2 separate regions of the Homo sapiens genome follow, and region 2 is linked to region 1. The links are contacts of gene promoters, found by promoter capture Hi-C in blood cells and fetal thymus (Javierre and others, 2016). All regions are on one chromosome and are shown on one strand. Each heading gives the region's core, a stretch centred on a gene start or on the middle of the fragment in contact. The rest is flanking DNA. Distances are from core to core; before and after follow the strand shown.

Region 1 (6,998 bases), core at 3,809-6,308:
CAGTGAGCCGAGATAGCGCCACTGCACTCCAGCCTGGGCGACAGCGCGAGACTTTGCCTCAAAAAAAAAAAAAGAAAAAGAAAAAAAGTATTAGGTCCTGCAAATGACATATAAAAATATGTTTTATAGCCACATGGTTATAAAGCACATGTAAAAAATGTTCATCATAGCAGAGGCAAAATGATGCAAGAAAGAGCACTAGATAAAAGTCAGGAGGCCTGAACTTCAGTCTTGGCTTTGCCACTTTGTGATCTACAAATAACCATCTCTATAAGCCTTAGTTTCCTCATTTATTTTGTTATTTTTTTAGTCTAATCTATTGGGGTTTTAAGTCTCCTCACTTATTAAAATGTGGTTTGATCAGAATAAGATTCTAGATCATTAGCTCTAACATGTGGTGCTTTTCAAAAAAATTACTATAAAAGTGATACACTATAAATACTTAAAAGTTGTATATGCCCTTAATTGTTTTGGTAAAAGAAAATTCCACTCTATTTTTTTTTCTTTTTCTTTTTTTTTTTTTTTGAGACAGAGTCTCGCTCTGTCACCCAGGCTGGAGTGCAGCGGCGTGATCTCAGCTCACTGCAACCTCCGCCTCCTGGATTCAAGCAATTCTCCTGTCAAGGCCTCCCGAGCAGCTGGGATTACAGGCGCACGCCGTCACGCCTGGCTAATTTTTTGTATTTTTAGTAGAGACAGGGTTTCACCGTGTTCCCCAGGCTGGTCTCGGACTCCTGAGCTCAGGGAATCCACCCGCCTCGGCCTCCCAAAGTGCTAGGATTACAGGCGTGAGCCACCGTGCCTGGCTCCACTCTATTTTTGTAACTCACTTTCCAGAGGCATCCACTCTCAACAGTTTCTTTTGTATCTTTAAGGCGTTCTTCATACATAAGCTAATACACTGCTAAGATTCTTGATTTTACCAACTGGACAGTCCTATAAATTCAAATGGAGCCTTGCCAAAATGAAAGAAAAATTACTTTGATAGCAGAAAGAAAACTACTCAGAAAGCCAACAGCAGAAAAAATTAAAATATACTGAAATAAGTATTTAAAACTTCATGTAGGGCTGGGCGCTGTGGCTCACGCCTGTAATCCCAGCACTTTGGGAGGCCAAGGTGGGTGTATCTCCTGAGGTCAGGAGTTTGAGACCAGGTTGACTAACATGATGAAACCCCATCTCTACTAAATACAAAAAATTAGCCAGGTGTGGTGGTGCATGCCTGTAATCTCAGCTACTTGGGAGGCTGAGGCAAAAGAATCACTGGAACCCGGGAGACAGAGATTGCAGTGAGTGGAGATTGCGCCCTTGTACCCCAGCCTGGGCAACAAGTGTGAAACTCCATCTCAAAAAAAAAAAAAACAAAAAAAACTTCATGTGTCACCTCCTGTTTGTGTGATGTAATGTGAGTAGAAGACATATGACAAGAAACTTCGGGTGGGAAGTTTCTCTACAGGAAGAAACGTGGGAGGCATGGGGGAAAGGAGAATCATACTAATGTCACAACCACAGAAGGATGTACAAAGGGTGAAAAAATTCAGAGAACTGTAAATACTAAAATAGCAAACTAACTGTGAAATGCACTATGAGCTTAAGGAGAGTCAACTGTAGAAAGGATGCAGTTGTTATCTATATTAAAGCCAGCCTAGAGGGAAGTGTATATTAACATTAGGCCCTTTTCTTCACAACAGCACCCTTTGAAGATCTACATCTAAATCTAACAAGGGCTTTCACATACTGAGAAGTCAAGGGTGAAATAATTGTGTTTCTAAGTGGTTTCTTCTAATGGTGGGGAAAATTTATCACATGATGACAGTCATCATAAGAATTTTTTTAAATATAGAAAGAAAAAAAAAGAGAAAAGGTAGGTCACTGAGAAAGTATAAAGTTCCACGAGAATAGGGCAAAGTCCTCTCTAATGGCCAGACTATTAATTTCCCTTTCATCTGGGTACCGGAGAATATTTAAACATTAAGTAAGGAATGTGTTATATAGAGAACCAAGCTTTTAACATCTGTAACCACGTAAACAAACATAAATTTCACTTAGATATGTCCCCATTTTTACCCCTGTAGTCCCATTTTTACCCCTATAGTGTAAAAGGATACCACTTTAGACTGTAAAGAATGCTTAAGGGTAACGTAAGAACCGCAGACTGGACAAGGAACCTGTTCTGCTGGTCTAACACATTACTAAGTCCACTTTTCCAAAGAATAAAAATACAATTCTGTAACATGTAAGTCACAAGTCTAACAAACTAAACTATAAATTACCTAATGATAATTACAATATTAAGAAATTAACACTGGTATAGTCTTTACCTGGAATTTTTACAACCTAAATACAGCATGATGGATAAAAACTAAAACCACAATTTGGAATTAATTTGGAGGAAGAGGAAATGATAAATTTGTATTCCATACTGTAATTTTAATCCAGTGTATGACACACTGTAAAATTTGTCAAAAAGTTGAAAACAGTAAAGTCTGAGAACCAACCTATGTCTCCATAAAAGAAAAAATGATTAGTCAAGGATGAGTGAATTCTAGGACTGTAAACTTTACCAAATCTACCTTGTCTCCAGATACTAAAAACACAAACAGAATTAGGGAACTAAAATCATTCTGGTTTCCTGAACCCTTTAGGTTAAAAGGAACAATATTTCCTGACACCGGAAAATGGTGAGTAAGCCTTGCTTTCACAAGTCAGTGGGTGAGGCTATGGTTTTCAAACTTGGGTGGAATATTATTTTAAGAGTCTTTAAGGGAAATTTTTATCATTAAAAGATTACATTAGTTACAACACAGCATAAAACTAAATATATAAAGCAGTACAGGTCTCAAACTTTTAAATTTCAGAGTCCAAAAAATGTTATGATCTCCCCATTTTCTCTCTTCTCTCTCTTCCATCACCTCTTCCCAGTACCTCAAATAAAACCAAGCCAGCTGACACACACAAACTGGTTTAGGAAGCTAAAGGTCTGTAGCAGTCAACATGAGCCAGGAGTGGCTTGTGTGCTACCTGCTAACTCTAATCATCAGACTTTCCATCTAAAGCTCAGAGAGAATAAATTACATGGGAATCAGGCCCTAAAAGCCTTTTCAGAAGTCTTCCATTTGACAGAATAGCACATTAGGTCTACCCACCATCACCCTGAGTGGGCTTAGCTACTTGTGTCAAGGTCTCCATAAAAATACAGATTTCAAAAAAGAATTTTGCAATACACATTCGAAGTCTTGGAGGAAAGCTGCTAAGATACGACCAGTAACTACTCCATGAAACCAGTCTTAAAGCAGACTGAAATAGCCAATGATGGCTACAGAACACATATCCAACTCACTAAATTTTAAAATTTAGGATTCTGTGTGCTGAAAACGATTACATTCTTTGATATTCACTTTTAACCAAAATACCCATTTCATTTCTAAGAAGACAAAAATGAGGAAGTTAAAATATACATTTGCCTTCCTTCTTGTCATACACCTTCCCACATACCAAATTACTACTGCAAAGAGCCACTATGCTATTATTCCAAAGAGTTCCTAAGCATCTCACAAAGAGATGCCTTGGTTCCTGATGACTATTATAATCATAATTATATGATTATGATCTTCCAGATCCATAGATGGTCATCTTGGATAAAGAACCCAGTAATGAAAGTATGCTGCGGTCTGTGTTTCTACTTACCCTCGATGACATCCTGGGGGTGAGAAGTCCGGTCACTGGGTGGATCCAGTGCAACAGTTGCCAGCGAAGTGGTGGCCCCAGACATCTCACTCATAGGCTCACTCCGGCTTGTTTCAGGCACGCTTTCCCGGGAGCTAAATCTTACTCGGGAACTAGATCGAGAGCTGAGGTCCGGACTGGTGTCTGACAAACCTGGAATGTCATCGATCTTTGTCGGTGTCACCATGAACCGAACTGAAGCCATCTTGGTGGTGGTTTCTGGAGGATGCATTTTGTTCTTTTTAAGAACAAAAAAAGTGGGGGGAACCTCGCAAAATCTTCCTCTTACGCTAGCTACTTTTGACTGCAATACAAAAGATAACTTGAAAAATAACACATTTCAATAACCTTGATTCACACCACACAAAAAGCCCCAACTAAGAATACTTCTACTCAGAATTCAAGCCGACTGTCCTAGAAAGTGCATCACCAATAGGTGAATATATTTTTTAAGAGAGAAAAAAACAAAAAACAAAAAGACAAAACAATGCCAATCTTGTGTGACTTCTTTCCTTCAGAATGAAGAGCTACCTAGCTAACCCCTCTGGTCCGGGGCTGAAGGCTCAGTGCCATGGTCTCAGGGCAGCAGATGAAGCCTCCCTCCCCTCAGCCCCCAGTTTCCTGTCGAGGTAGTCCTTTATCTGGTGAGTGTCCCACGGTTCTAGTTGGGCGAAGTGCGTGCAGGCAAACCTTTATCAGGCGACTATAGCGTGGATCAGATTGCTAAAAGGTGTACACCCGGCCACCTGTTGTGTATCAGGTGAATACCCCACAGGTCTGGCTGGGGGGAGGTGTATGCAAAGCCACCCGGTGTTTTTGATGTCGACAATCCACTTGGGTCTGGTGGGAAAGGTGCACATGCATAACGGGAAAAATAACCCACACTACTGAGAGAAGGGTGAGCAGAGGAGGATGCAGGGGCAGAGCGGATTCCTGTCTCCGAGAGGTCGGTGGGGGTGGCGCGCCCGCTCTTCTCCTAGCAGAAAGGTCCTCGGGGTCTGGGAGGAGGTTAGCGGATCAAGACACCTCGGACTGCAGCTCAGAGTCGTGGCAAGTCGTAGCTAGTCCACTGAGCCACGGTCCGCTCGCTAGGTTTCTCCTGCGTGTGACAGGACGAGCCACCCCCTTTGCCGGAGGCGCGTTCTCCCCTACCCCCGCCCCGGCGCAGGTCACCCCCTCGTCGTTCTTCCTCAGGGTCCCAGTAGAGGAGGAGACGGCCACGCAGGCTGGCCTGACTGGGCAGCAGGGTGAGGGAGAAGGAGGTCGCAGGTGCAGTATCCCGGCGCCAGCTGATGCGGGTGCGCGCGCAGCTGTTGTTTACTAGCCGGTAACTGTTTCAGAGCCGCGGCGCGCGCAGGGTTCGCGCTGCCGGGGCTGGCGCCCCCTCCCCGGCCCGACGCCAGAGCAGCAGTTACGTGACCTGGCCTCCCCCAGCCCCGGGCCCGACGGGGTGCGCCCGCGCCGCCGCAGCCCTTCCCTTCCCTCCCCGCTTGTTCCTCATTCGAGGTGAACCTTGCGAAGAGAAGCCCGGGGGTGCAGTGAGAGGGCGGAACCGTCCCGCGGGCGCCCGAAAGCCCCGCCCAGCCGCCGCAGCCCGCGGTGACCGAGTGCAGCGCGCCTGCGCTCGCCGCGGGACACGGCAGGCGGGGCGGGGCCGAATACGAGTGGCCAGGGGCACGACGGGAGCTGTAGTCCAGGGCACGGCCCGACCCGCGTGAAGAGGGGAATAATCCTTTTCCTCGGTCCGGCTGTGCTGCACACTCACTCTGGAAGCATCCTAGAGGGCGGGCGCTGCTCCTCACCCTCAGAACCCGGGGAGCCATTTCTCTTTCATGAGTGTCTCTGAAAACATCATTCATGATTTCTTTAACCAGAAACACCGCTCCTATACCTGGGAATAACCCTCATTGTAATTTTTATGTAGAGGTCTACATACAAATAAACCACTTTTATGTAAAAAAAAAAAATTAAAACTATAAAGTAGGCCTGGCGCGGTGGTTCACGACTGTAATCCTAGCACTTTGGGAGGCTGAGGCGGGCGTGATCGATCACCTGAGCTCAGGAGTTCCAGACCAGCCTGGCCAGCATAGCGAAACCCCGTCTCTACCAAAAATTCAAAAATTAGCCGGGCGTGGTGGCGTGTGCCTGTAATCCCAGCTATTCCTTAGACTGAGGCAGGAGAATCGCTTGAGCTTGGGAGGCGGAGGTTGCAGTGAGCCGAGAACGCACCATTGCATTCCAGCCTGGGGGGACAAGAGCAAAACTCCGTCTCAAAGAAATAAATAAATAAAAATAAAACTATAAAGTACCTTAAACACATTTGTCCTACTTTAATTTTTTGTTGTTGTTCTTGTCCTTTTAATAAATGCTATGTCCACTTTCTAGTCAGACTGAAAGTTCCACTAAATAATACGTTTTTTTATACCTGGAGAAGACGTTGATGTATTTTCTCAAATCCATTCCATGTTTTCACCACTACATTTGTCGCTAGAATATTTTTTCTTAGTGTTTATTTAATGTATAAATGGTGGTGTTCGATAAATTCTGACTCACCAATGTTTTGTTTGAAAAGCTATTTCCTATAGCTGTGATCAAGACCTCTAAATTTAACAATCACCTGGGCCCAGAAACTGGCCCCCGGTTTTGCCTGGGGTCTTGGCTCCTCACAAGTGGTTATGTTTAAGCAGCACTCCTAGCAATGGGAACTGTATTCCCGGAAGTTCTCTTTTATCAAATGACACACAAAGTCCAAATCCTTTCAAGGATTAAAGGATCAAAAAGGTTAAAAAGATCCTGGTAACAAAATGAGAAATCCTAATGTAAAGTGTAAACCTCCTAAAGTTTGACTCTTTATAAAGTCTGGGTTTCTTGATTCAGGCCCACAGCTTTCATCCATCCTCAGCAGGATCAATTTTTTCCTCAGGCAGGCCTGCCGTTCATTCAAACTTCAGACTTTTCCTTTATAAAGAAACACAGAATTTTTATGAAACCCAATTTCCTACCAGTGTATCTGCATTTACTTATATGTACCACCTAATTCCAATATACTATCCCTGTTAAGACTTTTCTTGTTTCTGAGCACTAACCAAGCTCTATAAATGTATGTCTCAGACGTTAATACCCCAGGGATCTCTTTATTTTCTCAGGGAGACACAGCCTCTGGTGCAAAATGAAGCCTCATTCCTCAGGGGATCTCTTATGGAAAAAGTCCTTTTTATATTCATGCCAGTTTGCTTTCTCTCCTCTATATTCATTAGGAATATTTTCAGGTT
Region 2 (6,967 bases), core at 2,362-4,861, 1.2 Mb before region 1:
AACACAGCCATTTTCATAACTCATATTTGGAATATTACTTTGCAAAGGTAGATCGATCAAGCCTTTTTACCCTCTAAAAACCACCTTCAAGATCTGAGCTCAAATTATCGATTCAACTTAAAACACAATGTGAGGAAAGATCTTAGGCCCCAAATTTGGTGTCAACAGTAAAAATTTCAATGTAAAAGTTTAAAATTTAAATAACTCAAGTCTTAATCAAGTTTTGCTGTTTTCTTTTTTATTTATTTTTTGTTGTTGTATTGCCTTCTTTTTTCCTTCCTGTTGTCTATTCGAAGCCAAATGGAATGACAGAGGAACAGCAAAAAATCTATAAGGAACGGCTGGCCCTGTACAGATTTTTCAATGATGTCACCACAGAAACGGCTGAAATGTCACATAATTAGTGAAGGTGGCTGCTTCCTTGTGTGATATGAGGGACCTCAGAAATGTCTCTGTGGCTACCATCCCCACACACAAACTCTATATTTCTAGTTTCTTAAGCTATTGCCCAGTCTTCAAGCCTTCCTTGCTTAAAACAAGCACCGCCCACACCCTGGGAATGATAACACAATAACTATTCATTAGCCCTTGATATCTTTAGTGAATTATTTTCCTCAGGTTTTTTCTAACTGCTTCTAAATAGCAAAAAAGCTACATAAAAGTATATTTTGAGTGAAGGAAGAGAGAAAGGAGGAAGAGTCTGGTAAAAGTAACTCCTTGAGGAAGAGAGTGATAAAATGACAGTTATGAAAATTGCAGATATCTGGTCAAACCAGAATGCCAGGAGACCAGGAGAGGCCTTGCCTCTTTCACAATTGTATATGGGGCTGTTCTCACTCAAGTAGTTTTTTTTTTTTTTTTTTTTTTTTTTAGATGGGTTCTTGCTCTGTCGCTTAGGCTGGAGTACAGTGGTGCAAACATGGCTCACTGCCGTCTCAACATCCTAGGCTCAAGTGATCCTCCTGCCTCAGCCTCCCGAATAGGTGGGACTACAGGCACGTGCCACCACCACCCAGCTAGTTTTTTTGTATTTTTTTTTTTTGTAGAAACAGCCTTTTGCCATGTTTCCCAGGGTGGTCTGGAAATCTTGGACTCAAGCGATCCTCCCACTTCAGCTTCTCAGAGTGCTGGGATTATAGGTGTGAGCCACTGCTCCCGGCCGTATTTTTAAAACTTTTCTAAAATGCTTATTGCTAGCATTTTCTAAAGATGCACATGTGTAGGGATACTTAATAATTATTGGTAAAAACTCGCTGCATGTGTCCAAGAACTCACTTAGGAGGTAGTCTCTTATTGTGTAATTTATAATAATCAGTAATAAAAGCAATTGCAAAGCTGTCAATATCCGCTGAGCACTAAGCATTAGGAGTTCAATTAATGAATTCTCAGACAAACTGAAGGGAAGCAGCAGATGAGCTATGCTGAGTTTTGGAAAAATAGAATGCTCTCCTCTCTCTTCAAGCATCATTTTCCTCTAGCTGTTCTCATCTCCTCAATTCCCATGGATTAGGAGTAGTGTGTGATGTTGGGGGAGGAGTGTTAAAAATTTTCAGAATTGGCTGGGTATGGTGGCTCACGCCTGTAATCCCAGCACTTTGGGAGGCCGAGGTGGGCAGATCACCAGGTCAGGAGATCGACACCAGCCTGGCCAACATGGTAAACCCCGTCTCTACTAAAAATACAAAAATTAGCTGTGTGTGGTGGTGCATGCCTATAATCCTAGCTACTCAGGAGGCCGAGGCACGAGAATCCCTTGAACCCAGGAGGCCAAGGTTGCAGTGAGCTGACATCGCGCCACTGCACTCCAGCCTGGTGACAGAGTGAGACTCCATCTCAAAAAAAAAAAAAAAAAATTCAGAATCTGTTCAAAGTCACAGTTTATGCTGTAATTTCAAATAGGAATATGACTGCGTATTCTATTCCCTAAGAGAGGGAATTTGTATATACTGAGCACATATACACTTATATTTTCATTTTGTTATCTCATGGAATCAGTACATCTCCATTTTACAGATGAGGAAACTGAAATTCAGAGATAAAGGAATTTGTCTAAGGGAATATGGCTCAGAATATGCAAGTTTCAAACCCAGATCTCTCTCACTACATTGCTTCATAGGTCATGTTGCTCTTCACCTACTGCCTTCTACTAACAAACTGGTTTTCCATCTAATTTGAATAGAGGAGTTTTTTTTGTTGTTTTCTGTTTTTTGTTTTTTTGTTAACTTGGTGTTACATAATTTCTTAACAATGTCTCACATCTTGCTATTTTAACGCTCACGGAGGCCAGGCGCAGCAGCTCACCCCTGTAATCCCAGCACGTTGGGAGGCCAAGGCGGGAGGTTGCTTGAGCTCAGGAATTTGAGACCAGTCTGGGGAACATAGTGAAAGCTTGTTTCCACAAAAAAAGAGAAAATTAGCTGGGAATGTGGTGCAAGCCTGTACTCCCAGCTGCTAGTGAGGCTGAGGCAAGGGGATTGCCTGGGAGGTTGAAGCTGCAGTGGACTGAGATTGCGCCACTGCACCACTGTACTCCAGCCTAAGTGACAGAGCAAGACCCTGTCTTTCAAAAAAAAAAAAAAAAAGAAAAAGAAAGAAACAAAAACCACACTCATTGGAGAGCTTCAACATGTCTGATCAGGTAAAGTGCTGCTCCCTAAGGTCATCCCTTAAACAATAAAATCTAGAAAAAGGGCACCAGGAGTTCACTACAGCTGGTATAGGCAGTAAAAACTCAATGAAGATTCTAATTTAGAAATAAAAGAAGAGAAGGACTGACATAAAGGCTATATCCTTTATGAGAATTACAGACATGTAGTGCCTGTTTACAGGATTAAGTACTTTTTTCCCCTGGTCTTTATAAGTCTTGGTTATGTAAATGGAGAAAATGTCATGGTTAGAACTCTATATGTTAGTCACAGTTGGGAAACTCAAGTCAAGGTTTAGAAAATTATAACATTGGATTTTATAGCAATAAAGCCACAATGCAAGGCATAAAGCTACTATTATAAAAAAAAAGAAAAAAAAAAAGAACTTTACACTATTGCCTCATCCACCCAGAAACTTCCATACAGAATGCTCTTACCACACTTGTGGTGCACATGTCCGGAACCAAAGAGGAGCAGAACAGAGGAAGAAAAAAGAAATGGGAGTTTGTCTCATGATCTTGGGACTACAGTTCCTTTGTTCTGGGCCCTGGGAAGCAGTATGTTGTAAGAAACTTTGTACTGAACTAGACTAAGGAGTTTCACTATCCCAGGATCCATAGGAGCCAATGAAGAATCCTAAGCTACTTACTTATACTTGTTATAAAAAGATTACTTCAGAAGTAAAGTAGAGAGTAGACAAGTAGGGGGTAAGACTAGTGGTATAAATCACTTAGAAAGGTCTTTCAGTATTCCAGAAAGAAGCGATAGCCAAAACCAAAGCAGTAGCAATGTGATGGAGAAGAGATGGTCAATTTTAAAAGATAGATTTCAGGCCAGGCATGGTGCCTCATGACTATAATCCCAGCACTTTGGGAGCCTGAGGTGGGTGGATCACTTGAGTTCAAGACCAGCCTGACCAACATGGTAAAACCCCATCTCTACTAAAAATACAGAAAAAATTAGACAGGCATGGTGGCACATGCCCGTAATCCCAGTTATTTGGGTGGCTAAGGCATAAGAATTGCTTCAACCCAGGAGATCTAGGCTGCAGTGAGCCGAGATTGTGCCACTGCACTCCAGCGTGGGTGAAAGAGTGAGACTCTGTCTCTAAATAAATAAGTAAAAATTAAATAAAAAGATAGAATTGAAAGGGTCTGGTGGTTAATTGGATATGCGTGACAGGAAAGAATTTGGTTTCATGATTTCAGATGTAGGTGACTGGGTAGATTGTGGTGCCATTCACAAAGATAAATGCACGAAGAGGAATAGGCTTCAGGGGAAGAAGATGAATTCAGTTGTGGAAATATTGAATTTGATGTATCGGGGAATAATCAAACAAATATGTCCACAACACTGCTAGATGCAAAGGGATAGAGAATGAGATTTAGGCTAAAGTTAACACATTTAGAAGGAATCATACAGTATATAAGGTGTTTCAATTCCATGTAAGATAAAGTAAGTGCACTCTATCCTAGCTCTCCCACTGAATGTAACAGAAAAAAAACACCAATATAAAATGCATGGAGCAGCTATTTGAACACTCTAAAAGTAAATGGTAACAAGCAGGTTGATGAGGAAGACCAGGCTTTGAAGTATCAACCAACTGTAAAGCAGCTAACTTTCTCAACTTTGTCCTTCAGTAGCCCCTAAGCCTGGACTCAAATGTGCCTGAAACATGGCAGTGAATATCAGCACAAACAGAGGAAGATATAGGAGGAGTCCTGTAATTCAGAATCAAGAATAGAAAGAAGTTTTCTTGTTGGCACCTAAAACTCTGAGGGAGGAGAACATTTCTCTATGATTAGAGGAACTGTAGTCCCAAGATGTATGGGGGAAAACCCTATTTCTTTTTCTCTCACTCTGTTCTGCCTCTCGTTGATTTCGGGTGTGGGCAGAGTTGCAGGAAGTTTGCAGCCAAAGAGTTGGAGGGTTAGTAGTCCTAGATTTCTAGTTAGAGGACTGAAATCAGAGCCTCAGAGAGCCCAGAAGTATGGGAAAGATTATGGAGAAGGATCTTAGAAAGTGACCCATAAAGTTGTTCATGGATACCTGAATTAACCCCAGCCTGTGGATTGTGGATCTGAACTTAAACACCATACGAAGGGCTTTGAAAAAAAATGAAGAGATAAGACAACTTCCCAGGGCCTAGGCTGGCCACTGGGTGGCACATACATGGGATGGAACACTGCAAAAGCTTTGAAAATGGAACTGACATGAAAACCACAACCCACAGGAGGCTCATTGGAACTGGAGGACTGAGCCAAACCAGGTTGACTAGCTGGTTGTTTCAACAAAAAAGGATCTTCCCTGAGCAAATGAACTTCAACCTCAACCCTCTAGAGTGTTCCATGTCAGAAGAAGGCTTTAGACCAGGGCAAACTCTTCTCTGTGACAACCCATTAGAAAGTCAGAATGCAGTATGGAATCATCACACATATTTTTCATCCAAGAAACCAGAGGAAAAAGAGCAGTAAGTCCTAAGAGAAAAAAAGCAAAAGGACAGGAAATCACTGTGCATTGGGGTTAAATACACTGGCATTGCAATTCCATGCTGAGTTCACAGGACTATTTCAAACAGCATTGCCTCATTCTACTTGGACTCAAATGCAGCGGCTCTGCAGAGGCACACACTAAATTATACATCTTAATTTGGCCTGTGAAGTGACCTGCTCTGGTTATGTTCAAGGTAAAAGCACTTTGCTTCCCAGGGAGTCTTCGTGTCTTCTATTTCCTCTGACAGGCTCCAGGCTGGCATTCTGTCTATGACAACATTGCAGCAGTGATTTCTCCCTTGATTCTTTTTCCAATAAACAAGTAGATTACCTCACTCTACCCCAAATGGAAATATCTGTTCTGCCTCATCCTAATGAGAAATGATTGCCTTTTAGTAGATGCTATCTATTGTTCATAGCATATTTCACCAATGCTAAAAATAAGATTCAAGAATTAGTTGTCGTCATTCTGTCTGCTGACGGCAGACATCCTAATTGATTTTGGCCTTAAAAGGCCAATGCAAAGCTTTCTTTGCCTAGTCATTGGCACAGTCTTTCCCTGTGACTCCATCTGAGCCCAACACGGCTAAGACAGATTACCTGTATTCCATTTCTAAACTGGAAAATTTTTATTAGTTCAGTCAAATTCACACTCTACCTTTCACACCCTCCTAAGACCAAGAGACTGACTTTTATGAACTCAATCAACAAGTTTCCTTGCCCTGTGGCTTCTACTAGATTTAGCCATTGGGAAACAGTAACAGATTGGAGGGCAGATGGAAGAGGGCTCGGGACCTTTATCCCCTGACTCCCTATCTCCTGGGCTATAGTTTGGTAGTAGGCGTGCCCTCTAATGAAGACCACGCTCCTCTGGGGTAGTTCTCCTCCAGCTGCAGCTGCTTTCTCTGAGTACCATTACTGCCCCCTCCCCTTGCTCATTTAGTCCTAGATGGCTTTGAATTCTGCCTCTCCTGTGTGATTTTGGACAAGTTATTGCCTGCCTTTCTCCTTTCCATCCACCCTGGGATGGAGTGCAGCTTTTTCAAAGAGTAGATTAAAAAAACAAAGGAAGGCTGGGCGCAGTGGCTCACGCCTGTAATCCCAGCACTTTGGGAGGCTGAGGCGGGCGGATCACAAGGTCAGGAGATCGAGACCACCCTGGCCAACACGGTGAAACCCCGTCTCCACTAAAAATACAAAATATTAGCCAGGTGTGGTGGCGAGCACCTGTAGTCCCAGCTACTCAGGAGGCTGAGGCAGGAGAATGGCGTGAACCCGGGAGGTGGAGCTTGCAATGAGACGAGATCGTGCCACTGCACTCCAGCCTGGGTGACAGAGCAAGACTCCGTCTCAAAAAACAAAAAAGAAAAAAAAAAAAAGGAAGTTCTGCAATAGGTTAATGGCTCTTCTTCTTTCCATGGAGTTTTTCTTCTCTTTGCTTTCCTTTTTGTTTTTCTTCTTTCTGAGATAGGGTCTCGCTCTGTCACCCACGCTGCAGTGCAGTGGCGTGATCTCAGCTCACTGCAACCTCCAGCTTCTGGGCCCAGGCAATTCTCCTACCTCAGCTCCTCCAAGTAGCTGGGAAAACAGGTACATGCCATCATGCCCAGATAATTTTTGTATATTTTGTAGAGACAGGGTTTTGCCATGTTGTGCAGCCTGGTCTCAAACTCCCGAGCTCAAGTGATCTGCCCACCTTAGCCTCCCAAAGTGCTGGGATTACAGGGGTGAGCCACTGAGGGGTTTTTCTTTAAACAACCTCCACACTGTAGGAGTAAGAACGTAGGAATAATAACAAAATTACTACAATACACAGCAGAAAGAGACCTA

The links. Contacts are between HindIII fragments. The CHiCAGO score rates a contact against its expected background, and 5 or more counts as called.
Region 2: a fragment that was not itself captured here is called in contact with the fragment with the promoter of SLC12A6 in region 1 in 1 of 17 cell types (M0 macrophages); the score reaches 5.4 in M0 macrophages.

What each region holds. Positions count from the first base shown.
Region 1 is chr15:34,332,723-34,339,720 of GRCh38, forward strand. It overlaps SLC12A6 (solute carrier family 12 member 6), which reads right to left and starts at 5,059. Exons shown (of 26, transcript NM_001365088.1): 1 at 4,610-5,059; 2 at 3,688-4,030. The coding sequence starts at 3,958. RefSeq lists enhancers at 1,447-1,496, 3,124-3,173, 3,234-3,303, 3,505-3,624 and a silencer at 4,914-5,473. The HindIII fragment of the contact is 4,998 bases long and covers 2,003-6,998 here.
Region 2 is chr15:33,155,429-33,162,395 of GRCh38, forward strand. The region is part of intron 3 of FMN1 (formin 1); the gene reads right to left. Among named protein-coding and RNA genes, the nearest start is that of FMN1, 36 kb to the right of the region's middle. The HindIII fragment of the contact is 2,451 bases long and covers 2,387-4,837 here.